Regions from separate parts of the Homo sapiens genome. Here region 2 is linked to region 1. Evidence: promoter capture Hi-C in 16 types of primary human blood cells and fetal thymus (Javierre and others, 2016). All regions are on one chromosome and are shown on one strand. Each heading gives the region's core, a stretch centred on a gene start or on the middle of the fragment in contact. The rest is flanking DNA. Distances are from core to core; before and after follow the strand shown. Region 1 holds the start of KDM2A (lysine demethylase 2A). Region 2 overlaps LOC100130987 (a long non-coding RNA gene).

Region 1 (4,655 bases), core at 1,237-3,736:
ATGTTAAGAAAAAGGGCAAGACCAAGTTGAGCTACTCCTAGAGACTTTCTCTTTGCCGCCAAGTATTCCCTGGGTTATAAGGGTGAGTGGGAAGGAAATAAAGCTGTTTATTTTGCAAATAGCAACAAGGCCCAACACTTAATCTGACAATGGCAAAAGCTTTCTCTCCTGCTTAAAAAACAAACAAAACGAGCTGCTGACTTTTTCTATAACTACAGAGAGCCAGATGCTTATGGGGCCATATCTGGTAGCACCAGTGTGAGAGACTGCTGCTTTTAAAATATACTTTACCATAGTCGGAAAGATTTAAAGAGGCTTTAGATCTGATACAGTTTCTGTGATTATCTTCTTCGTATCAGTGCTCTGAAAATCTAAGAAGTCTGAACAAAACTGGTATCAAAATAAAGAATATTTCCCAGTGACTAGAACGCAAGAAGATGATATCTTATTAACAAACCTTTTTTGCTGTTTGTGAGATGTTTCAGTCGGCTGTTGGAGTAATTATGCAAGCTCTTTAACCTTTCTATACTTCAGTTGTCTATCTTTAAAATGAATATAGCGCTAACAGGCACTTTAGCTTGTCTCCTAAGGATGTTGTGAAACAAAGCAGAGAATGTCTGTACAAACTCCCCAAGTTGTGCATGCAGAAAAACCTTCTGTGGTAATAAATAATAATACCTTGCATTTACGTAGCGCTTTTACCTTGGAGTTCAAGCCTTGATAGAATTAGAAGGTATCATTATTTTAATTGTCTCGCTAACGTCCTCCTGAAAGAGTTGATGGCTGTTTATGCAGGTTATATGATTCACTCCATGCCCTACCTCTCTGCTCCATTCCCTGCTTCCAGGAGTCAGAGCTTAAAGAGTGGGAAACCAAGGCAGGGAGAAAAAGATTTGTGTGACACCGCTCAGCAAGGGCGTAGTGGAGCCAATAGTGCCAACCCCGATGTGTAACGCCCCAGCCACCGTCCTTTGTGGGATTTAGAATTTAAACGGGCCCCAGAGCAAGAGATTGGCTGGGGAAATGCCCGGATCGCGGCTGGGCTGCTCGCATGGCACTGCTCGGGTACCTCCGGCCGGGCTCCGTCGACGTTCGGAGCCTGCTGGCCCGTCGGGCAGCTGTCGGGCCGCGGGAGTCGGTCCGTGGGCAGGGCCGGCGCAGCTCGGGCGGCTGCTGCCCCGTCGCTGACCCCCGCGCGAAGCTGCGCGCACCAACAGGAGACATCTTCCCGGCCGGGCCTCCCGCGCCCGCCACGGCCCAGGGCGGCAGGGTCGGGCCGGGGGCCGGGGGCGGCCCGCGCACCCCTCCGTGGGGGGCGCCCCGACTCGCCGGGGGCGGGGTCACGTCCCACCCGGGCCGCCGGGGGCACCGGCGCGGCGGAAAGCTGAGCGTGGCCGAGGAGCGGGGGCTTCCTGGGCCACCTCGCCGGGCGCCTCCGGCCGGCGGTGGGCGCGCCGGCCGCCACCGCCCCCGGGCCGTCGCGGAGACCGCTTCTGCGCCTGGTACCTGTGGACGCCCTTGTTAAGCGCCTGCAGCACCCCCGGGGAGCCGAGCCCAGGACAGACATGCTACTCCTGTTTCCTGCCCCTTCGGAGCGACGAGCAGTGGGTGAGGCGGGGCCAGGCCGCTGCACCGAGGAGCCCCCGGGCCCAGGGCAGACGGGCCCCGTGGCGGCGGCGCCGGGGCCTGCCCGGGAATGGCGGGCAAGCCGGCCTCGGCCCACCGGCCGGCACGCGAAGGGAGGGCAGCCGGCGGCCATGCGCCCCTTCCCTGCGCCCTCTCGCCCTGGGCAGGCCTGAGCCGGGAGCCCAGGTCCCGCGGGCCCAGCCCGGCGGCTTGACCCCGGGAGACCCTGCTTTGAGGCGGGTATCGGTTGCCCTGGCCCAGGCCTCCCGGCCCTCAGGTTGTGTGACTGTGACGGGCAGCCTGGGGCCAAAGGCGGTTGAAGGGGAAGGGGACGCAGATCTCCCACTGCTTGGGGGGGGTGATGTGCTTTGTGGGGGGTCGGGGGTCACCACCCTCCCAGGGGGGTGGGGGAGGGCGGCCAGCACAGCTGGCCGCGAGGGGCGGGGTCGCAGAGGCGAAGTGTGTGTGAGGGTGTGTGGGGGGAGGGCGCGCGGAGGAGGATCGGTGCCCTGCGCGCAGGCGCGAGCAGCCAGCCAGGCCCGAGCCCTGGAAGAACGCCGACGGGGAGCGGGGGCGGCGGGCTGGCGGGAGGGAGGGAGGGCGGGCGGCCTGACGCGAGGGGGCGCAGGGAGCCGCGTCGGCGTCGCGGGGCGCGGGCGATTCGAGGCCGACGCATCCGCGCGTGCGCGCGCCGGCGGTGTGTCCGCGTTAGAGGGGAGTGACGCGTGCGCGTTCACGCGCGCCCGGGAGAGCGGTAAGAAGCGCAGGGAGGCCTGAAGGGGGTGGGGGGGTGGAGAGGCGAGCTGGAGGAGGGGTGGGGAGGTGGCGCCTGCGCAGTGCGCCTCGGAGGAGCTGTGTGTATGTGAGAGTCTGACGGGTTCAAAATGGCGGCGGCTGCTTCAGCGGCTCCTCCTGTGTGAGGGAAACAACACCCCTCCCCGGCAGCGGCGGCGGCGGCGGCGGCTCTCGGAGCACCTTCCCAGCGGCTGGGCCCGTGGCCGCTCTGTCTTTCCTGGGCAGGGGACGCTCCGGGAGGAGGGGCAACGCCAGGGGGCCCATCCCCCGGAATCCCTCTTCTGCGACTGGGGAGTAGCCGGGGGGCTCGTCCCGCAGCGCGGAGCCAGACCTGAGGGGGAGACGCGAGGGGAGCCAGGGCCCCCATCCCGGCGCGCCGCGCCGCTCCCGCCCTGTCCGCCCCCCGGGGCCGGGGCCCGCGTTCCGGGGGGCCGGGGCGGCGCGGGGAGCCTCGGGCCGGCCGGTCTCAGCTGATCGGCCGCTGCTCCCGCAGGCGACCAGCCCCTGCTGGCCGAGGGCACGGCGAGGAGGGCGCTCCCTGCGGCCGGGGCCGGCCCGGGGCTCGGGCCCGGGCTGCTGACCGCTGGCCTGGGGGAGGCGGGGGCGCCCCGGGCTCGGCGCCGAGGGGTCGCGCTCCTCTCTCCTGACGCCTCCGACTCCCGGTCTCCAAAGCCAGAAGAGAAGGTTTGATTCAGCAACTGTTTGCTCCCTTTTCCTGGTCGCTCTGACCCTCTCTGGATACTGGGTTGATCCACGGAAAAACCGAAGACGACGTTTGGGATTTAATTATTCCTCTCAGCTTTGGAATCTTTTACTTCTCACTTGGACAAGAACTCAAGAGCAGAATCTCCGGTGAGTTTCCCCCTCCCCCCCCTCATTTGGAAGTTTGGTTGACTGTGTTATCCAAAGACTGAATGCAAAGTTTCTATCTCTTTTTCCGATGGGTGAACCATTGAAACGCCTTTTCCTGGGGGAGCCCAGCGAGATTCGCCCTTTTTCCTCTCCGGCCCTGGCTGCTCCATGCCCAGGCGGTCGTCGCCCAGGGGGTGCAAGCACGGTTTCCCTCCCGACTTCGGGCCAGGGCTTCCTCCGGGAGGGCTCTGCCTCTAACTGCTCTGCAAACTGTGTCATCGGGTCCTCTGGTCTCGTAGCAGTTTTGAAAGGATGCTGTTAACGTGGCTGTAATGTAGTGACAAAAACGGGGGGAACCTGTGTTCTCAATGGAAGCCATTATCCACGAGAATATTTAGAAAAAAGAAAACCCTTTCTTGGTATTACGGATTGACCGTCGCGCCGGCCGGTCTTTTATTTAATTTTTGGACAAGATGTATTTTCCTTGTATCCTTAGATGCAATCGTTTATTTTATTACTTTATCCAAAAAGATCAGATGGAATTTTGGTCCTTGATTTGCACCTCTGAAATTTGTTTCAGAGTTGTGCACATCTTGTGTTGGGGTGGAGGGTAGATTTGGGAATGATAAGATCCGGGGAGTCTAGAAAGGAAGGCGACGATTGTGCACGGCCTTACAGGAGGGGTATGGGAAATTGTTTTGGGGTCATTTAAATCCTAATTTTTTGTCCTCTTTTTACATAGTCAGTTTGCCCTTCTTTCCTTTAGTTTCTGATTACCGGTGAGAGAGAACTAATTTGGTTAGGATCTGGATTAGTTCAGTGGTGCTTCACCTGGTCAGCTCTCTGGAGATAAAAGTCCTGGGCTTTTTTTTTTTCTTGCTGATGCTGCCATGAAGGAGATCCTTGCTAGTTGTAATCCTGTGGGGAGAAACTGGTGGTGTGGCCCTTCCACAAGGAACTGAAACCAACATCTCGTTTCGTCTAGGCCTCCGACAGTTGTAATGTGATTAATGTTGAACATGACATGGAACCACTTGCCCAAGAGCAGAAAGGTCCCAAACTCATGAAGAGGAACCTGATTTTTCAGAGAGCCTTTAACACTTACCTTAAATACTCCTTTCCGTGAACAGAAAGCACAAGTTTGAGAATGAGTTCTCATTTCTGCTTATATCATTATTCTTTAGTGTTGCAATCTGGTTCCTAAGGAGGAAGAGGAAGGCAGCCCTGGAGTGGTTTCTTTACAGTAATTTCAACAGAAGAGTGAGAGATGGAACCCGAAGAAGAAAGGATTCGTTACAGCCAGAGATTGGTTAGTATTTTCTCCCCCCACCACACCCTCCAGTTTTAAAGTAGGATAACTATTTTGTTTCCAGTTGTGAATA
Region 2 (5,248 bases), core at 2,054-4,553, 210 kb after region 1:
TTGAGGACAGGGCAAATCCTCCCAAGTCCTGTTTAATTCATCCAAGGTCTAGATTCCCCGTGGAATGTTTTGTTGCTCAGAAGGTGGAGTCATCCTTAGAACAAGGAAGCTGGGGAGAGATTAAGCAGGTGCAACCAGACAGGGGATAGAGCACAACTGGCTGTCCTTTTTGTCCCTAGATATGGGATGCTGGAGGACATCTGGGGGCCACAAATGCTCCTTCTCCTGGAGACGCAACTCAAGGTGAGCCTTTACACCATCCTTCTGGCAGCCCGTGCTCCCTCTCCAGAGAATGGTTCTTCCTTTTCATCCTCCTTTCCCACTTCACTCCCGCTCCACAGGCTGCAGGTAAGGGCCTGCAGTGTGTATCAGGATTTCCTTATAGCTAAGTGCATGTGAAGCCTGAGTAGCTCCAGGCCTGGTACTTGATAAGAGGTTATGACAGCCCAGTGCCTGCCATGGAGGCCTCTGTCCACCTACTTCAAGGGCGTTATGGTCCTATACAGTTTACTAAGCACTGGCACTTACATGTGATCTCATTTGACCTCAACAGCTGTAAGGTCTTGTATTGTGACTTTCACTTTTCCACGTGAGGGATCTGATTTCTTAGGTTGTAGGTCAAAGAACTAAATGATGCCACTGAGAGCAGTGATCTTTCCACCACCTCCATAATCACTGACAGGGTGCCATCTGCCTGCTAGTGAGAGCACGGTCCTAGGTTAACCTGAAACTAGACCAAGACTCTCCTTTGTTCCCATTTCAGCTAGAATTTACTGCCCATTTTCCTCAGCGTCTTATCTCAGCACAGCTTCTGCCTGTCATTGGACAAGTTTGATCTGAGTTTCTCTCTCACTCTCATGCTCTCAGTACATGCTGACTTGTTCTCAGGGCACTGAGAACTTGTGCTCTTCCCCTTGACTCTGCCAGGTGCACCCTCTCCCAGATAGGCACCCTGGGTAGCTGTGAGACTTCAGGGGATTCTGTATCTGGGTTAGAGAACCAGGAATAGGAAAACTGTTCTCCCACTGGGTGGGGAAGGAAGTTAGCAAAAGTTTGCCTGATGGGATTGGCCTGGATAGTAATGCTACACCCTATGCGACCCCATCTCATTGGCAGCCCTGGCAGAGCAGCTCAGTGAGCCACAGAGGTAAAGGTGGAAGGTGAGTGCGGCAGGGAATGTAAAGGCTCAGGCTAAAGGCTAAAGCAGGGTCCCACCTGCTGGCATAACTCAAGCCAGAGCCATGGAGGCGGAGGTGGGAGACAGGTTTGGGTAAAGGAGGATGCCCCTGGGGAGAGGGAGCTGGTTATATGCATCCTACCTAATTTATCTTCATATGGCCTGAGAAGGCTTGGAGCTGGCCTGCTTTGCCCAGAACAGCAGCAGCCTGTCTCCCCAGGCAGCACACACTGCTGTGCAGCTCCTCTCTTGGTTTGGCAGACCGACTCCCATCCTCTGATGGCCCTCGAGAGACCTTTTTCACACCCTCCACCCTGCCTGGTGGCTCAGCTAGATGCCTCCCGCAGCTCTGTCCACCGTCTGAGATCTGATCATCCCAAATGTTCCTATGCCAGGCTGAACTCTGCCTTCTCAGAATGTCCTCACTCCTGCCAACCCAAAGCTCTTATTTTCAACACAGAAATGGGAAATTGGGAGGGAGGCTGAGTGCCATGGGGCCTAGAGCATGTGGTTTGGAGGCAACCAATGGAATCATTTTGGGGTCAATGGGATGCCTGAGCTGATAAGCAGAGATCCCCCGTCCCTACTCCCGAATATCCCTGTGGTGGGTGGGGCTGTGTATAGCAAGGCCTATATGCAGCAAGATCCACAGGTGGTCCTCACTTGCCTACCCCACCATCCTGCTCCAGCTTCACCCTCACCCTCCACCTCAGCCCTGTTCATTCCTCTCTTCCCTCTTTCCCTCCTCTCCTCCCTCTAGGTAGTGCAAGCAGCAGCTGTTGACCCTAGGGGCACATATGCTTGCCTGGCCTATCTGCACTTGAGCTTCCTACGGGTGCCCATCTTGGCCTGCATGCTGCAGGACTTGCGCTTCTGGGCAGATAGCTCTGATTCTTCTCCTCTTCAAAAGGAAAAAGGACTCAGATAAGAGAAGACGTTAGGGAAAGAAGACTTGGAAGTACATGGAGGCTAGATAGGAAGGAACTAGGTGGAAGGGATGCTGTCGGAGAATAACTGAAGGCACCAGGGGCCCAGGGTAGCTGTAAGGGCCTAATGGTCCCTGGGACTGGGTTGTGGGGCCAGGTGAGGCTGGTCTGATGGAGGAGCTGTTCTTGGAAGGAGAATTCTGTTTCTGGCTAGACCCTTGTTTGAGTACAAGGAACTGTGAAGGATCCATTTGACAGGAAGCCTAGGATAAAACTAAACTCATTCTTTTTTCTTACAGCTCACCTCTGAGTCTTGAGCTCCAAACCAGCCCCTCCTGCTGACTTTTCCATTATCAATAGTCTCCTATACCCAGTTGTAAATCTCAGGGTAACGCTGACTTTCCACATTTAATCAATTATCAGATTCTGATAGTCCTTCACAAAACAGTTGCCTTTTGTCCCCACTTCCTTTACCCAGCCGAAGTCCCTGTTCCTACGCCTCAGCTACTGTGATAACTTTACAGCTGGTGATGCCCTTTAGTCTGTCCAGAGCACCTTAACTACACAGACGTATTCATCCCTTCGCATGTGTTACTCCTGTGTTAAATGCCTTTGGTGTGCTCTCTATGGCCTGCCAAGTGCAGTACAGACTCTATTCTGCACTGGAGTGCAGTGGCGTGATCTCAGCTCACTGCAACCTCCATCTCCCGGGTTCAAGCAATTCTCCTGTCTCAGCCTCCCAAGTAGCTGGAATTACAGGCGCGTGCCACTGTGCCTGGCTAATTTTTGTACTTTTAGTAGAAATAGGGTTTCACCATGTTGGCCAGGCTGGTCTCAAACTCCTGACCTTGTGATCTGCCCGCCTTGGCTTCCCAAAGTGCTGGGATTACAGGCATGAACCACTGCGCCCAGCCCAGACTCTCTATTCTTTTTTTTTTTTTTTTTTTTTTTTGAGACGGAGTCTGGCTGTCGCCCAGGCTGGAGTGCAGTGGCGCGATCTCGGCTTACTGCAGGCTCTGCCCCCCGGGGTTCACGCCATTCTCAGACTCTCTATTCTTTTGCTGAAGGCCTTTTATGAATCTGATGCCAGCCTACCTTTCTGGCTTTATCTCCCAGAACATCCTACGATGTACCTTTCACTCTCATCAAACTAGACTACCGACTGTTTCTCGAAAAACTTTTTCCACCTCTTCACCTTTGCTTATGCTTATCTTTCTGTCTGGGAAGGTTCCTTCCACCATTCATCTCTCCATTTAAAAATATTTTTTGAGCACTTTTTATTTTGAAAAATTTCAGTGCAGAGAAGTTGAAAGAGTAGTACAGTGAACAGTTATGTAACCTACACCTAGATTTGCCAGTTATTATTTACATGTTTCTTTCTTTTCTCTCTTTTTTTCCTGGACCAACTGAAAATAAGTTGCAGGCATTATGACACTTTACCCCTAAATATTTTGGTCTGTATCTCCTCATAATAAGGACATCATTCTACATAACCACAATCCTTTCTTTTCCTTTTTTTTTGAGACTGAGTCTCACTCTGTCACCAGGCTGGAGTGTAGTGGTGCGATCTTGGCCCACTGCAACCTCCGCCTGCCAGGTTCAAGCGATTCTCCTGCCTCAGCCTCCCAAGTAGCTGGGACTACAGGCGTGCACCACCACGCCCAGCTAATTATTTATTTATTTATTTATTTATTTTCGCCCAGCTAATTTTTGTACTTTTAGTAGAGATGGGGTTTCACCATGTTGGCCAGGATGGTCTCGATCTCTTGACCTCGTGATTTGCCTGCCCTGGCCTCCCAAAGTGCTGGAATTAAAGGCGTGAGCCACTGCGCCTGGCCAGTCTTTTCTTAAAAAAAAAAAAAAAAAGTCTGGGATTGAGTGTGGTGGCTCATGCCTGTAATCCCAGCACTTTGGGAGGCCAAGGTGGGAGGATCGCTTAAGGCCAGGATTCAAGACTAGCCTGGACAACATAGTGAGATTCCCATCTCTACAAAAATATTTAAAAATTAGCCTCGGTGACAAAGTGAGACCCTGTCTCAAAAAAAAAAGAAAAAAATGAAGAAGAAGGAAAAAAAAAAAGATAATGTGATTATTAGGCCAGGTGTGGTAGCTCATGCCTATAATCCCAGCACTTTGGGAGGCCAAGGCAGGAAGAGCACTTGAGCCCAGGAGGTTGAGGCTACAGTGAGCAATGTTCTTGCCACTGCACTCCAGCCTCAGCGACAGAGTGAGACCCTATTTGTAAAAAAAAAAAAAAAAAAAAAAAAAAGTTAAAAATTAACTGGGCACGCCAGGCGCGGTGGCTCACACTTGTAATCCCAGTACTTTGGGAGGCTGAGGTAAGTGGATCACGAGGTCAGGAGTTCGAGACCAGCCTGGCCAACATGGTGAAACCCCATCTTTACTGAAAATACAAAAATTAGCCTGGCGTGGTGGCGAGCACTTGTAATCCCAGCCGCTTGGGAGGCTGAGGCAGGAGAATCGCTTGAACCTGGGAGGCGGAGGTTGCAGTGAGCCGAGATCACCCCACTGCCTTCCAGCCTGGGCAACAGAGCGAGATTCCATCTCAAAAAAAAATTTTTTTTTTAACTGGGCATACTGGTGCTTGCCTATAGTCCCAACTACTCAGGGGGCTGAGACAATAGGATGGCTTGAGCCCAGGAGTTTGAGAGGCTGCAGTGAGCCATGATTGCACCGCTGCACTCCAGCCTGGATGACAGAGTGAGACACCGTCTCTAAAAAACAACAAAAAATAAAAATGTGGTAAAATATACATAAAATTTACTATTTTGCAGTTTTAAAGTATATAGTTGTGGCATTACGTACATTCACAATGTTGTGTAACTGTGACCACCATCCATTTCCAGAACTTTTTCATCATCACAAACAGAAACTGTGTACCCATTGAATGATAGCTCCCCATTCCCCCCGGTAACCTCAATTCTACTTTCTGTCTGTGAATTTGCCTCTTCTAATTACCTCATATAAGTTGAGACACACATTATTTGTCCTTTGATGTGTGGCTTATTTCACTTAGCATGTTTTTAAGGTTCACCCATGTTGTAGCACATGTTCAGAATTTCAATTTTTTTTTAAGGCTGAATAATATTCTCTTATATGGATAGACCACATTTTGTTTACCCAT

What was found. Contacts are between HindIII fragments. The CHiCAGO score rates a contact against its expected background, and 5 or more counts as called.
Region 2: a fragment that was not itself captured here is called in contact with the fragment with the promoter of KDM2A in region 1 in 1 of 17 cell types (neutrophils); the score reaches 5.3 in neutrophils.

What each region holds. Positions count from the first base shown.
Region 1 is chr11:67,116,777-67,121,431 of GRCh38, forward strand. KDM2A (lysine demethylase 2A) reads left to right here and starts at 2,487. Exons shown (of 21, transcript NM_012308.3): 1 at 2,487-3,273; 2 at 4,458-4,582. The coding sequence starts at 4,541. It overlaps LOC107984341 (a long non-coding RNA gene), which reads right to left and starts at 1,572. Exons shown (of 2, transcript NR_160735.1): 1 at 458-1,572. RefSeq lists silencers at 1,394-1,443, 1,584-1,863, 2,044-2,483, 2,624-2,693, 2,874-3,013 and 2 more and an enhancer at 1,924-1,973. The HindIII fragment of the contact is 9,806 bases long and covers 158-4,655 here.
Region 2 is chr11:67,321,091-67,326,338 of GRCh38, forward strand. LOC100130987 (a long non-coding RNA gene) reads left to right here. Exons shown (of 4, transcript NR_024469.1): 2 at 180-243. Among named protein-coding and RNA genes, the nearest start is that of SSH3, 20 kb to the left of the region's middle. The HindIII fragment of the contact is 9,734 bases long and covers 1-5,248 here.